Linked DNA regions of Homo sapiens: regions 2 and 3 are each linked to region 1. Evidence: promoter capture Hi-C in human tissues and cell types (Jung and others, 2019). All regions are on one chromosome and are shown on one strand. The core of a region is centred on a gene start or on the middle of the fragment in contact, and the rest is flanking DNA. Distances in the headings are between cores, read along the strand shown.

What was found. The method cuts DNA at HindIII sites, captures the fragments that hold promoters and counts their contacts. A contact is called where the count stands out against the background at its distance.
Region 2: a fragment that was not itself captured here is called in contact with the fragment with the promoter of PXDC1 in region 1 in 1 of the 25 tissues and cell types used here (spleen).
Region 3: a fragment that was not itself captured here is called in contact with the fragment with the promoter of PXDC1 in region 1 in 1 of the 25 tissues and cell types used here (heart right ventricle).

What each region holds. Positions count from the first base shown.
Region 1 is chr6:3,749,903-3,754,384 of GRCh38, reverse strand. PXDC1 (PX domain containing 1) reads left to right here and starts at 2,672. Exons shown (of 5, transcript NM_183373.4): 1 at 2,672-3,109. The coding sequence starts at 2,854. RefSeq lists silencers at 2,159-2,328, 2,379-2,618, 3,369-3,448. The HindIII fragment of the contact is 13,410 bases long and covers 1-4,482 here.
Region 2 is chr6:4,170,133-4,174,614 of GRCh38, reverse strand. LOC124901246 (a long non-coding RNA gene) reads right to left here. Exons shown (of 5, transcript XR_007059416.1): 3 at 3,315-3,460; 4 at 490-604. Among named protein-coding and RNA genes, the nearest start is that of ECI2-DT, 36 kb to the right of the region's middle. The HindIII fragment of the contact is 6,100 bases long and covers 1-4,482 here.
Region 3 is chr6:3,354,828-3,359,309 of GRCh38, reverse strand. The region is part of intron 3 of SLC22A23 (solute carrier family 22 member 23); the gene reads left to right. Among named protein-coding and RNA genes, the nearest start is that of PSMG4, 98 kb to the right of the region's middle. RefSeq lists an enhancer at 2,277-3,167. The HindIII fragment of the contact is 4,734 bases long and covers 1-4,482 here.

The DNA of each region.
Region 1 (4,482 bases), core at 1,423-3,922:
TTTATGTACGTCTCTTTCAATTCTCTTCCAGTCAATCTGGAAGTCACTGCAGTTGCTGCAACCTTCCCAACTTTTGGGAGCAAAAATCCTGCATACCAGCCTGTCACGCCACACATTCCAATCTGGGTAGCTACTGAGTATTTCTCTGTAACACCATAGGTCTCCAACTGGGGCCAAACACTCAATTCCACCGCTGATGTCTTCTTGCATACTCAGTTAAATCCAACACTTCATAAGAGTCGTCATCACTTTCATATTCTTGGGGGCTGGGGTTAGAGGTCACCATGATACCACAGGTGGCCTGTTTTGGGGTGGTCCTGCCTGCCCTCCTCTTCCTGGCACTTTCAGAAAATAAGTAACAGAAAAATACTGAGAAGAAAATAATAATCTTATTAAGCAAATGGGCTTGTCACCGGTGGAGGATGTCCAGGTTCTTGGCATCTTGAACAAAGAATTGGACAAAACGCACAAACAAAGCAAGGAAGGAATGAAGGGATTTATTGAAAACGAAATTACATTCCACAGTGTGGGAGCGGCCCGAACATAGGGGCTCAAAGGCCCCGTTACAGAATTTTTGGAAGTTTAAATATCCCCTAGATGATTCCATTGTTTACTTCACTTACCCTCTACGTAAATGCAGAGGATGAAGTAAAGTTACAAAGTCACTTACAGCATACGCCCTATGGAGTGGATATTTCCTGTTACAGCCGAAGTGTGAATTGGCCTTATGTTCCCTGCCTCCTGACCCTATTTTCCTGCCTCAGGCTCACTGCTCAATGTACACGGAAGCAATACCATGGTACTGCCTTTGAGAAAAGAAAGACTTTATTGCAAGACCAGCCAGCAAGGAGACAGGAGGCAGGTTCAAATCTTCCTCCCTGATTTGGGGTCTGGGGCAAGTTCTAAGGAAGCAGAGGGCAAAGGAAAGGACTTAGAAATGTTGGCTGGGCAGGATCTGTTTGAAGGCCTTCAAATTTGGCCATTTATGGTACGGTATGTTGAGGTGGATTTTAGCCCCTATCTTCTGGGCCAAGAGACCCTTCCCTTCTGAGAGTTCGAATGTTCGGGTTCCAGTCATGTCCCAGTCTTCTTCGTTCCAAGGAGACGAATAGTTGGTTCTGGATGTTTGTTAGAGATCAAATCTTTTTCTATGGTGCATGCCTGGGCTTTGTGACTTAAGAGTTTTTGGCTCTGTTATACCTGCAAGGTAACTCAACATTGTTACAAACAGAGTAAGCCCCGTTTGGGCTGGTACTGTGGTTACAACGGCACTTATTCCCACCACCTAGAGTCAAGAGCTGCTGGCACACTGGCTGTTTACTTCCAGTTCCCACGGCCCCTATTCCCCTATACAAAATTACACAGGAAACATATGCGTTCATTTAATTAGCAAGTGTATATAAAAACATCATAGACAAAGCAAAAGTCTCTCTTGACACTCTCCATCTTGACCTGTTCACCGCCCCAGACCAGGTGAGGAAATTTGAAGCTATGCTATCTGCAAGTCACTGGCGCAGTCGGAATAAAAGTTGGTCGTGGTGGGGGCGGGGGGGGGGTGGTCATCTGGGTCGGGACTGAGTCGAGGCAGGTGGGACTGAGTGGTAGGGACCTGGGGGGACATCTGGGTCGGGTCTGAGTCCAGACAGGCCACCTGCCTTGGGCCTCTAACATTTCCGCGCAGCGCTGGGCTTTGAGGCTTTCCAGAGCGCTGCCGGGGCGGGGGCGGGGTGAGGTGAGGGGCTCACCCTGGCTCTCCCACCCCTGCCTACGGGCTGTGAGGTCACTCGATTCATTTCTGGAACTAACTTGTAATTCTCAAACAAGTGCTATTAATTCTCTTCCAACTAGGAACGGCCTCAGTAACGCGCCGCTGAGTCAGTTTTCAGGGCGGGCGGTTTCCCCAAGTCCACTCCTGAGGCCCCTCAAGAGCACCCACCGCGTCCAGCTTCCCAGGGCGCTCCTTCCCAGGAGACCTTCTTTTCGCCACTGTTTTCTCCCCTCTTCCCACTTCTCCGAGGGCTGCCCCGCGGTCTGTCCGGCCGTGTCCCAGGCCTTGGCGCGGCTGAGGCATGACCGGAATGCGCGGGAGGACGCGGGGCACGGAGGGGACCTGAGGCACGGAGGGAACCCGGGGCGGGCCGGACTGGCCTGGGCCCTCGTCGGGGCGGTGCTCGACCCGGCCCGCGCCCCCCGCCCCGACACTCGCAGCCCCGCCTCCGGACCCCGGGTAGTTGCCATCCCCTCGCGGGCCGGGTGGGGCGCGCAGCTCCTAGCCCTGGGAGGTCCCGAGGATCGCGAAACGGAAAGAGAAAAAAGTCTGCGCCGAGCGCCTGGCAAGCAGGGCCCGCCCCGCCTCCCTTCCCGGCTGGTCCAGTCACCGACCTGCGGCTCCGGGGCCGCGAGGGAGGAGGCGCGGGGGGCGCGAGGCGGGGGCGAGCGCTTGGGACTCGGCCCGGCTCCCGGCTCCGGGGGTTCTCGTGGCCGCGGCAGCGCGGTCTCTGCGGAGGCGGCGGGGGCGCGGCCAGCCGGACCTCTTCCTTTCCAGAGCGGCCCGCGGCGCCCGTTCCGCGGGAGGCGGGCGGGAGGCGGACGCGGCCTAACCTCGACGTCGACTACCGCGCCGCCCGCGATGGGAAGCGCCTTATAAAGCCGCGCCCGGCCGGCCCGAGCCACTCGCCGCCGCGCCGCCCCGCTGCCCCGAACGCGGGCCATACGCAGCCTCCTTGGAGTGACGGGCCGACCCCGGACGACCCCGGCCACGGACAGACCCGGGACGACCCCGGCCGGGGCGCGCCTCCTGCGGGCGGGCGGGCGGCGGGGCTGGGGAGCCCTTGGCGGGGGCATGCGTGCGACATGGCCTCGGCGGTGTTTGAGGGCACGTCGCTCGTGAACATGTTCGTGCGCGGCTGCTGGGTGAACGGCATCCGCAGGCTCATCGTCAGCCGGCGCGGCGACGAAGAGGAGTTCTTCGAGATCCGCACGGAGTGGTCGGACCGCAGCGTGCTCTACCTGCACCGCAGCCTGGCGGACCTGGGCCGCCTGTGGCAGCGCCTGCGCGACGCCTTTCCCGAGGACCGGTCCGAACTGGCGCAGGGGCCGCTGCGGCAAGGTGCGGGGCCGGGGACGCGGGAGGGGCGCGGGGCCGAGGCAGCCTTGAAGTGCACGAAGGAGGCGGGGAAGAGACTTCAACCGAGATTGCGACTTCTCCTTTCTGCCCGCCCTGGACAGGGGACACTTGGACCCCGCGCCCGCAGACGAGGGGTGCCCGGGCGGCGGGGTTAGGGGGACGGGGAGCCAGCCTGCCCAGCCTGGGGGCGCCCCCGGCGGAGGAGCCAAATGGGGCGGGAAAGGGGCCGAGGCCGGCAGGGCGGGCGCCGGACTCTCCCTGAGGACGAGTCACTTCCGAGGAGGGCGGGGGCGCCCGGGGCTGAGCGGCTCACAGGGTCGGCCCGGCCCTAGCCCCCTGCCCGGTACCTCCCGAGGGCCGGCGGGCGGGCGCACTGGGAAAGCGTCTGGGAGCAGTTAACTGCAGGGTCCGAGCCGGGGGTCGCGTCGGGTCTGGCCGCCGCCCCGAGTTCTCCCCGCGGAGGGCGCGCCCCTGGTCTTCGAGCGCGAGGTGCCACGCAGCCCTTCCGTCCCTCCTCGGAGCGGCCGCCCCGCCCGCGGCTGCCGCGGACAGCCAGGGCCCCCCCGCACCCCCGCCAGGGCTGGTCCCCATTCGCGTTTGATCAGCTGCGCCGCCTCCTCCCCGGCCTCGTGACCGTCCTGGCTCGCGGGAATTCTTGTTTTCAGAAACCGCGGTGGCTTCCCTTTTCCTACCGCTCTGCCCGATCTTTCTTTTGGAGGCCAGGCTGAGGGGGTGGAAGCCGGGAGGACGCAAGAGAGAGGGACTGGAATTGAGACGGGAAGAATTGCGGGGTGGAGGGGGCAGGCCGAGGAGAGGGGCCGCCTGGGAGGGCCGGGAGGGGAGAAGGGGCGGGAAGACTGGAGGACTTCCGAGCAGGTCCCACCCCCCTCCATGGGTGACCACCTGTAGCTCGGAACATTGGGACAGTGGCCCAGCAGCCTTCTTTTCTGCAGTCCTCCTCTAAGCAGAGACCTCCTGAAAGCTTGGGGCCAAGTTACTGAAGCAGAAGGTGGCCCGTCCAAGTCTCCCCAGCCTCCTATCTGGCTGCGTTCTTGAGATAACCTGTGCTTTCCCCTGGCGATGGCCCCAACCCCAGTGTGAGAATTACGTGGATAATTAGCTTAGTTCTCATGACACATCTTTTGGAAGGGCTCCCACAGCCAGCGAGTTGGGGCCCTGAGCGAGAAGGCCCGCCTTTCAGGCCTCCCTCTGCTCCCCAGAGCCTCACATTTATAGCTGTTCTCCAGACAGTTGGGTGTTATTTCAAGCATGGAAGCAGTTTTCCTTGGATTTGCTGTTTGTTATGATATTTTAAATTTAACAAATCAATGCCCAAATCAGGAAAGCATCGTGAA
Region 2 (4,482 bases), core at 674-3,173, 420 kb before region 1:
AATTCTCCTGCCTCAGCCTCCTGGTAGCTGGGATTACAGGTGCACACCACCGTGCCCAGCTAATTTTTGTATTTTTGGTAGAGACAGGGTTTCACCACGTTGGTCAGGCTGGTCTAGAACTCCTGACCTCATGATCTGCCCTCCTCGGCCTCCCAAAGTGCTGGGATTACAGGCGTGAGCCACAGCTCCTGGCCTTAATGTATTCATTCTTAACAATTTGGAAAATTCCATGAGACGTTAGACAATTCTAGCCATCATCTCAAGTTAAATTTTCTATTAACCATTTCTACATTACTTGTCTGTTAGGCACATATCATGAAAGCAAGAATCTTAACATTAAATACATGCATATTTTGCTGATAACTCAGAAGATCTTGTTACTTTTATTAAACAAACAGTATTAAACTAGTGTTAGTTGCCAAAAGTTGACTAAAGTCACATGAACTTGAAAAGCATTTGGGCTTATTTACTTAATTTATGAATACTCACATTTATTTAAAAGTCAATGTGGGGCCAGGCCCGGTAGCTCAACAAAAACACACGAACGAACAAACGAAGTCAACTTGGTATTATGTAGACAACATACGAACAGACATGCATACACCTGTATACATAAAAATATATACAGACACAAATAAAGATTGTATGGCTTTAATTTTAAAATTTTAGCCATGTGTCAGGTATAACTTACTTGTTTAAATGGACGGTTGGATTCTAACTATGTCTCTGTAAATGGAACAGGTTAAAATTTATGTCTCACATGGCCAAAGCCCTTACTGAGTTTTAGAGAAAACAGGGTAGCAATTTACATGTCAAATAACTGAGAGAACCTAAGCTTTGTCAAGAAGGAGTTTGAGTGTGTTACAGGAGGATTACAATGGGTGCCAAGATAACCTAAAATTACAGGAATTTATCACAGGATTTTATGAGGAAAAATAAAGATGAGCCTAGACAAAGTTTAGAAATCTTTTCAAAATAATCAGCTGAAGGCCAAAAAAAAATCATATCCTGGAGACCAATTTAGTTATGTGATTTCTAACTTAGTCTCCATTTTCTAACTGTACTGCTGAGCTCAGGGCTGCCAACTCAAGCATTAGCCCCCCACTTCAAGAGAAGGAAATAGGGGCTTGATAGGCCTCTAAGGAGTTCCTTTCCAGGAGGTGCATTGTATGGGAACCGATGGAACACACGAAAAACAATGATTGTCAGTCAGGACCCCCCAGTTGGAGGGATAGAGATTTAGGAACCATCACAGGTTGGTCGGCTCCTGCAACCATCCAGATGAGTTCAGAACTCTGGCAGGGACACTCCAGAGTATCAGGGTTAAGGACAGTGGCTCAATGTCAACTAGAGCTCTATTCCCAGAATGTCCCTGGATCATCCCTTGTCCTGCTTGAGGGTAGAGGGCCAGGGACTTTATCAAGATTTAATTGCAGCCTTCATTTGTATTTGGGGCAATCCTTTTTAAAATGTCTGGAACATCTTCTGAAAACACACTTTTTTTTTTAAATTTTGGTTTTGAAGAATGGGCATGTTTGAGGTGTCCCTTGCTAATTGTTGTAACTGAAGGACCATTAACTTAGCAGCCTTCTCTTGACAGTCTAATGCTCAAGTAGCCCTAGATTCTTTATTCTTTTCTAAAGTTTTGGATAATGAATTGGCCAAAGAGGCTATTTCATAAGGTTACTTTACAGCCCAGTTAAGGTCAAGCTGTTTTACCAGGGTACTGAGAGCTTCAGAAAGACCAGCCCCAAAAAAAAAAAAAAAAAAAAAAAGGAATTAAATAAATGGAATGTTTCATCATTTAAATATTTGATCTCCAAATTTTGTTGGAAAGTCTGTTCAAATTTATCAAAATAATCAAGAATGGTCTCATCCTTTTTTTGTGTAAACGGTGTATGGCTTTTCAGTTTATCTGATGGGGAAAAAATAGGGGAATGGCTTTTAGTAATTTGGTATCCTGTTTCTGTGCCTTATCAAATCCTTGGGCACCGGTCTGCTTAAAGTCCTCAGAGTCTTTCCCATTCAGCAGCTAACAGCTGATCAAGATTGATAAGCCCTAATGATTAGGCTACAATGTTACTCAAATTCAAGGAAGTTAGTCTTCAAGGGACTAGGGAAATGTTTTACTAGGGCCAAAAGTTCTGACATGGACTAAGGAGCGTGGAATTTGCCAATTTCTACTCCCCATTATTTGGGCCTTAAAAGGGGCTGAGTCTGGAGGAAGTGGAAATGTCAGAAGAGAAAAAGAGGAATTCAGAAAGCGTGAAAGAGGAAGGAGGGAGTGAAAGGTAAAGTAGAGGCCTTGTAAAAGATGCAGCAGACAGGCAAGGTGACAGGAGAGGTGAGCTAGCAGAAGAAGGGTCTTAGGTTTTTCTGCAGCTTTAGTTTCAGTCTCCCAAGTGCTAATCTCTTTTTAATTCATTAAGATGTTTGCCTAATTTGGAATTGCTTTCTTTAAGGGAAGCATAGTAGCTCTTGATTTTATTCGAAACTCTAAAAGTACCAACTTGAAAAGGCTTTTCATTATCTCTGGGAAGTTCAGTGTTTTCTTTGTTCTAATTGTGAGCACAGATAGGCAAGTTTTAGAATTTCAAAAGAACCCCATCTTGGCCAACAAAGTTTTTAGATCATCCCAGGTAATTTTTGTCCAGAGACCTAGCCAATTACAACTCTCTGGAACATAATTTTTGCTCATAAAGCCAGTTGGAGTGCCAGAGGGCAGCTGATCATCAGGGAAACACAGAAATCACGGGTTACCCATTGCACTAAGCTGATGAAGGCATCCCTCTAGCGCACCTTAGAGTGTCCTCACAAAACCTGATGGAACAGCTGGGTCTGCAACCTTATGAAGAGGCCACCTCTGCAAACCAGATGGAGAGGCCCCCCTTCCTGGGGAGGTCTCTTTCAGGGTCCAGATGAAGAGGACTGGCTGAGGAGGTTAAATAAAGGCTCTGAGGCTTAGATCAAAAGCATGGGAGAAGTGCGCGGTGGTTCACACCTGTAATCCCAGCACTTTGGGAGGCCAAGGCAGGTGGATCACCTGAGGTCAGGAGTTTGAGACCAGCCTGACCAACATGGCAAAACCCCGTCTCTACTAAAAATACAAAAGTTAGCTGGGCATGGTGGCACACGCCTGTAATCCCAGCTACTTTGGAGGCTGAGGCACAAGAATCACTGGAACCTAGGAGGGAGAGGTTGCAGTGAGCCGAGATCATGCCACTGCACTCCAGCCTGGGCAACAAGAGTGAAACTCCATCTCAAAAAAAAAAAAAAAAAAAAGGCATGGGAGGTCTGAATTCAAGAGGGCTTACCTGAGGCTTCCTGGCATCTCTGAGAAGACAACTGAACTCAAAGGACCCTTGAAGATCCCAATGTGTTGGTTCAGGACAGCATCAGGAGAAGAATCAGTGTTGCTTGAATTCCACTTCTGATTCCAAAGAATGTGAACAAAACTTCTCTGAAAAGGAATGTAGAGGAAAGAGACTTTATTCCAGTAAATTTTTCATACCAAAGAGACACAGCTTTCATGTAAAGTGAAGGTGCAGTCCAGAGAACAATGGGAAATTTGACTTTTATAGAGGAAGTTCTAACCCAGGTTCTCACTAAAGTCCACATATACACATGAAACATTTAAATGTGCTTAGTTATGATTGTTTGACGTTTACTGAGCTCTGGTTGGTTAATGTAGGTCACAGCCTATTGGTTGGTTCAGGCAACAAAAATAGGAACAGGCAACTATGAAAGTCTCAAAGTTATGCAGACATGCAGGTTTTCATGGAACTCAGAACACGTATGTGACCTCTAGTCAGCAAATGGTCACTTGGCTCTTACTGAATTTAGGCCCAGTCACCCAGTCAGGATTCATCTTGAAGGATTGGCCTTTCAAGGTTTGCAATCCGCCTTTTCATAAATGAGGAAACTGAGACTCAGAAAGATTGAGTAGTTTTGTCAATCCACCAGTGATTAATGACATAATACAGGATTGCTGTCTGTCTGTCTGGCTCTAAAGCCTGTGCTCACCACAGCCACTCTGCTTGTGTGGATTCCCATTGAAGTAAATGGCTGCCTGGATCTCTGAAAGAAGAAGCGACATTGAATGGAGGCCGTGCTGGGATTGATTGTGGATGTCTGCCATGGACAGGAATGTGGGAAGTTGGGGTGTGTGTGCTGTGTCTATGCCATGCAGTGGAAAGAGCTCTCGACAAGGACTCCAGAGAGCTTGGCTCTTGACCTGACTTTCAGTTTATGGGCTACAGTTGCCACTCATCTGTGTATCAATGGCCTCACTCACTAAACAAAAAAAATAAGAAGATGATTTCAAATTTCCATTTTGCCCTAAAATTCTATGGCTTTTATATAGCTATTTTATTTATTTATTTATTTAATGAGACAATGTCTCACTGTTGCCCAGGCTGTAGCACAGTGGCACATTCTGGGCTCACTGCAACCTCTTCCCCTCAGGCTCAAGCAATCCTCCTG
Region 3 (4,482 bases), core at 1,016-3,515, 390 kb after region 1:
CAACACCAGCTAGCATAGCTTAGCAGCATCTGTTATCTGCCTGAGGGCGGTGAATTCCCAGTGAGATGCTCATTCTAGTACTGTCCTAGAATGAAATGAGTCTCAGCTGGCATGTTCCTCGCTCTCCTTCTCGGTGCCCATCTTTTTCTTAGTTGAAATGATCTGTGATTCTGGATGCAGCCCGTGTTGTTCTGGGACGTCTCTGTATTGCACTAAATTAATAAAGGAGCTTTCATTTTTGCAGTTATGTATTTTGAATTCCCTATTCTCTCTTCATCCTGAATGACTGAGACTTGATTAGACATCGGCACAGCGCACCTGACATGGCGCTGACATGGAAATGCAATGGGTGGCAGCTCGGGGTGCAGACCCCACCCAGGATGCTGTGCCCGAGGGGAGCCAGGGCTTCCCTTTGAAATGGCAAAGGTTCCCACCATCCCTCCAGCCCCCGATGGCAGATCCCTTCTCACTTCTTCCTCACTGGAGCTGTGACTCCTTCCGGTGTTTTCCTTGGGTTGATGAAACAGAAACTCTCCTGGGGCCTTTTTTATTTTATTTTTTAATTTTATTTGTGGTAAGAACATCTAACATGAGACCCACCCTCTTAACAGGTTTTTTCAGTGTACAGCACAGTATCGTGAACTATAGACACAATGTGTGCAGCAGAGTTCCAGAGCTTATTCATCTCGCCTGCCTGAAAGCTGATGCTAGTTGACGAGCAACTCCCCATGTCTCCCTCCCTCTACCCCCGGCAACCATCAGCCCACTCTTTGATTTTCTGAATTTGCCTATTTTTACATGCCTCATGTAAGTGGAATCATGTAGTATTTGTCCTTCTGTGACTGGCTTATTTCACTTAACATAATTCCTCCAAGTTCATCCACGTGTCGTACGTGTCAGAATTTCATTCGTTCTTAAGCGGAATCATATTCTATTGTATTTTTCACTGTGTTTCGTGTGTCCCTTCACCTATCAGTGGACCTCTGCGTTGTTTCCATATCTTGGCTGTTGTGGATAACACTGCAGTGAACGTGGGAGCGCTCACGTCAAGTGCTTTGAGATCCTAATTTCAATTCTTTTGGATAAGTACCTGGAAGTAGAATCACTGGATCATATGGCAGTTCTAGTTTTAGTTTTTTGAGGAACTGCCATACTGTTTTCCATAATGGCTGCACCATTTTTGCATCCCTACCAACAGTGTTTAAAGGTTCCAATTTCTCTCCATCCTGGGGACTTTGATACTGAGAACCTAACCTGTCTAGCCTCTTCTGCACTGGCCGCCTTTGCAAGAGCTGGTTGCCTCTCTGAAAACTCTCCTCCCAGGCCTCTTCCCTTCCCCTCACCCACATGGCAGGACAGTCCTACTTCCTTTTCCCTTAAGGGAAGATTCAAATGCTGCTTCTTTGGTGAAGTCTTCCCCAGGCCTCGTCCCTTTCTTTGCATTCCTGTAGCACAGAACCCCATCTGTGTCTTATAGGCACGTGTCTCTTCATCAGACTGTGAGCCCCTTGAGGCCGGTGGTGTGGCTTCATCTCGGCATCTCCCCTGGCATGGTGCTACCTCATCCTCCTTGCTGAATAAGTGAATGAAATGCATTCATTATACACAGCCGCCTTCTGTTTTCCATTATTTGTCATTATTCAGTGTGTTCTGTGAACCAGGAGCTGGGCATGGCTTGTTGAATAAGAACACAGTCCCTAAACTAAGGAGCTTTTAGGCTGGTAACCAAAAAGGGAAATTCTAAATTTTTTTATGATAAGCTTTTAGATATCTTTTTGATATTTAGAATGAAGTAAACACAGTAGATGTAGTCCAATTTTGGAAATCATTTAAGACCTGAGCCTAATTGAGCAGGTAGAAAGCCAGGAAGAACACACCTACTTTGTATTTGCAGTCCTTTCCTCATGCTAATTGATAAGGCGATTAATCCTTACACTATTGCTGAGCCACAACCCCATTTAAAAATAAAAATTAGGAAAGCTGTCTGGATAATTATTAGCAAAGACTTTACAGAGGCTGGGATAAGTCCTCCAGCTGGTTGTTTGCACTGGGAGTTTTACAGTGTACTTGACCTTTGCTTAAGGTAAGGGAGTTTGTTTGGCAAAAACAATGATACATATTTCCATGGCATTGGAATCCTGCTGGATTTCTGAGACTCTGGGAATGCAGATGTGGGCACTGGAGTAAATGTGAGCATTTCATTACAGTGCCTGCCTTGTTTTGGGTTTTTTTTTTTTTTTTTTTTTTTTTTTTGGCTCTGTTTTGGTTTTCTCTTCCAGGCTGTATTGCTAGGTTTACTGCTTTAAAATTGTCTTTATGGTCCAGGCTGCTGCAGCCTTTAGAACAAACCACGACAGTTGGGATCTAGAAGCCTGCGCCTCTCCTAGAGACACCACCTGCATCACAGTGTCGGTGACCTGACCTTTGAAGGGGCCATTTCCCATCTTGGAAATGGGGATACTACTTGATATTCTTATTTATAGGATTTGGTGAGGGCATATGAGGTAACACATCCACAGATGCTCTGAAGGGCTTGAGCGGGATCCTGCACCTTATTACAGGTGGTTGTTGGTATCTTGGGCAGGTTTCAAGACCTGGAGGTTCAAGCCAGCCCATCTCACTGCTGAGCCAATAAGGAGGAAGACAACAGGGTTACAACAAAGCTTCAGGCTTAGGAAGAAATGTTTCACGTGGATGGTGTCCTGGCCAGCGGGTTTGGTTCTAAAATAAACACTACTGTCTCTGGGGCTGAAGATTTGCCCAGGACAATGAAGCAGCCAGCGGGAGGGTAGTGCAGAGCCGGTAAGTTTAGGGTCAGCTTTATTTTCACAGGCAAATGAGGAAGTGAGAGGCTGCTAAAATCACTCCTCTGAGGCTTCCCCTGCCCCTTGGATGAGGTCGCTGCCATCTCTGAGATGGGGGTGTGGCCTGTTACCCTTGTAGGCACCGAGGGTGGATCTAAGACACTGTTTTACCATCCAATCCTGTCAGCGGTTCCATGGCCCACCGGTTTCCTTTTGAATGTTTCCAGGAGCCAGAAGTCCAGATCCCAAGGGCTGGCACGCAGAAGGAGGGCCCTCCCGAGAGAGCACGCGTGCTTCGATTTCTTTCGTGATTATGAGATGTTTCTGATGTCACGTGTATCTGCTACCCGGACTCGGAAACAAGCCTCATTAATAAGTCCCACCCTCCCGCCTCCACCCACCCCCGCCTCCTCCCGCCTCCTCCCCCTCCCGCGCCCCCCGCCTCCTCCCCCTCCCCTGTCCACAAGTCTCCCCACCCCGTTTGCTGTTTTTCATCCTCATGAGTTTCGTTAGGTTTTCCCACATCTAGAACACTGCGTTGTACAGTTTTGCCTTTAAAAAAAAACTTCCTACAAATGCTGTCGTACTGTGTTTGTTTTTCTGAACTTCCTTCTTTTTTTAATACCTCAGCGTTATATCCAGTGGCTCCTCCGTGTCGATGCGGAGACAGGGAATGAGTGAGAGCGACGCCGGCTTTGAGAGCTGGGGTTTGTGCAGGGCTGAGTGAGACCTTGGGCTCCCGTGGCCCAGAACTTAAGAAATAGCAAATGAGAATAGTAGATGAGCCAGAAATTGAGAGTAAATTTGGGAAGGCACAGAAAGGACTGACCAGGCATCAAGTGGCCTAGCTCTGGAGCCTGGGAGTGGGGCTGATACAGGGAGCGGGGCGGGAGGGCCCAGACCTAGCCCAGACTCATGAGAACGGTAACCTTGTTATGACCTTGGCCTTCACACAATAACTTCCCTCTGCCCAGCAACGTCCTGTTCTCTTATACACATGGTAAGAGGGAAAATATCTATCTATAAATACATTTATATTTCTAAGAGATCATCATGGAGATTTTTTTTCTCGACCCAGGGAGGGTTGCTTTGTTGCATAGAACAGGGTGTGACGAACCCACGAGCAGCATGCTTGTCTTCCTCCCGTCTTTTAAGTTCAAAGGCTTCTCACTGTACCTAATAAGTCGATGTCTTTACTGATATTATTTCTGATTTCCAGTTTGAAGATGAGAAAACTGGTGGTTATCAAGGCCTCTCTATTCATCCCATTTTATTTGAAGAGCTACTGGATAGTATTTGGAGGGAGACTTTTTTTTTTTTAGCTGGGGAGGGTGGCGGCCACAAAGACAGGGAGCTGTTTCCAAGCAGATAGAGGGTAGGAGCCCAAAGATAAGGATTTGAATACTGCCATGTGGAGAGGCGCTGGTTTTTTTTGTTTGTGTTTTTATAAACTCGGTAGTAGGAATATCTTTTATTGTTTTTCCTGTTGCCTGTTTAAAGGAAAGAGTGTAGCACAAATTGTCCAAATGCCTTGTGCTTTTAGGGGCAGAGTTAGATACTGTCACCCTCTGGCCCTCAGGTCCTGCTTTGTCTGTTCTGCGTGTTGTCTACCCATGAACTAATGAGGCTGCCTGCTTAATTGACCTGGAAAGACAAGTGTCAGTTGAAGAAGATGATG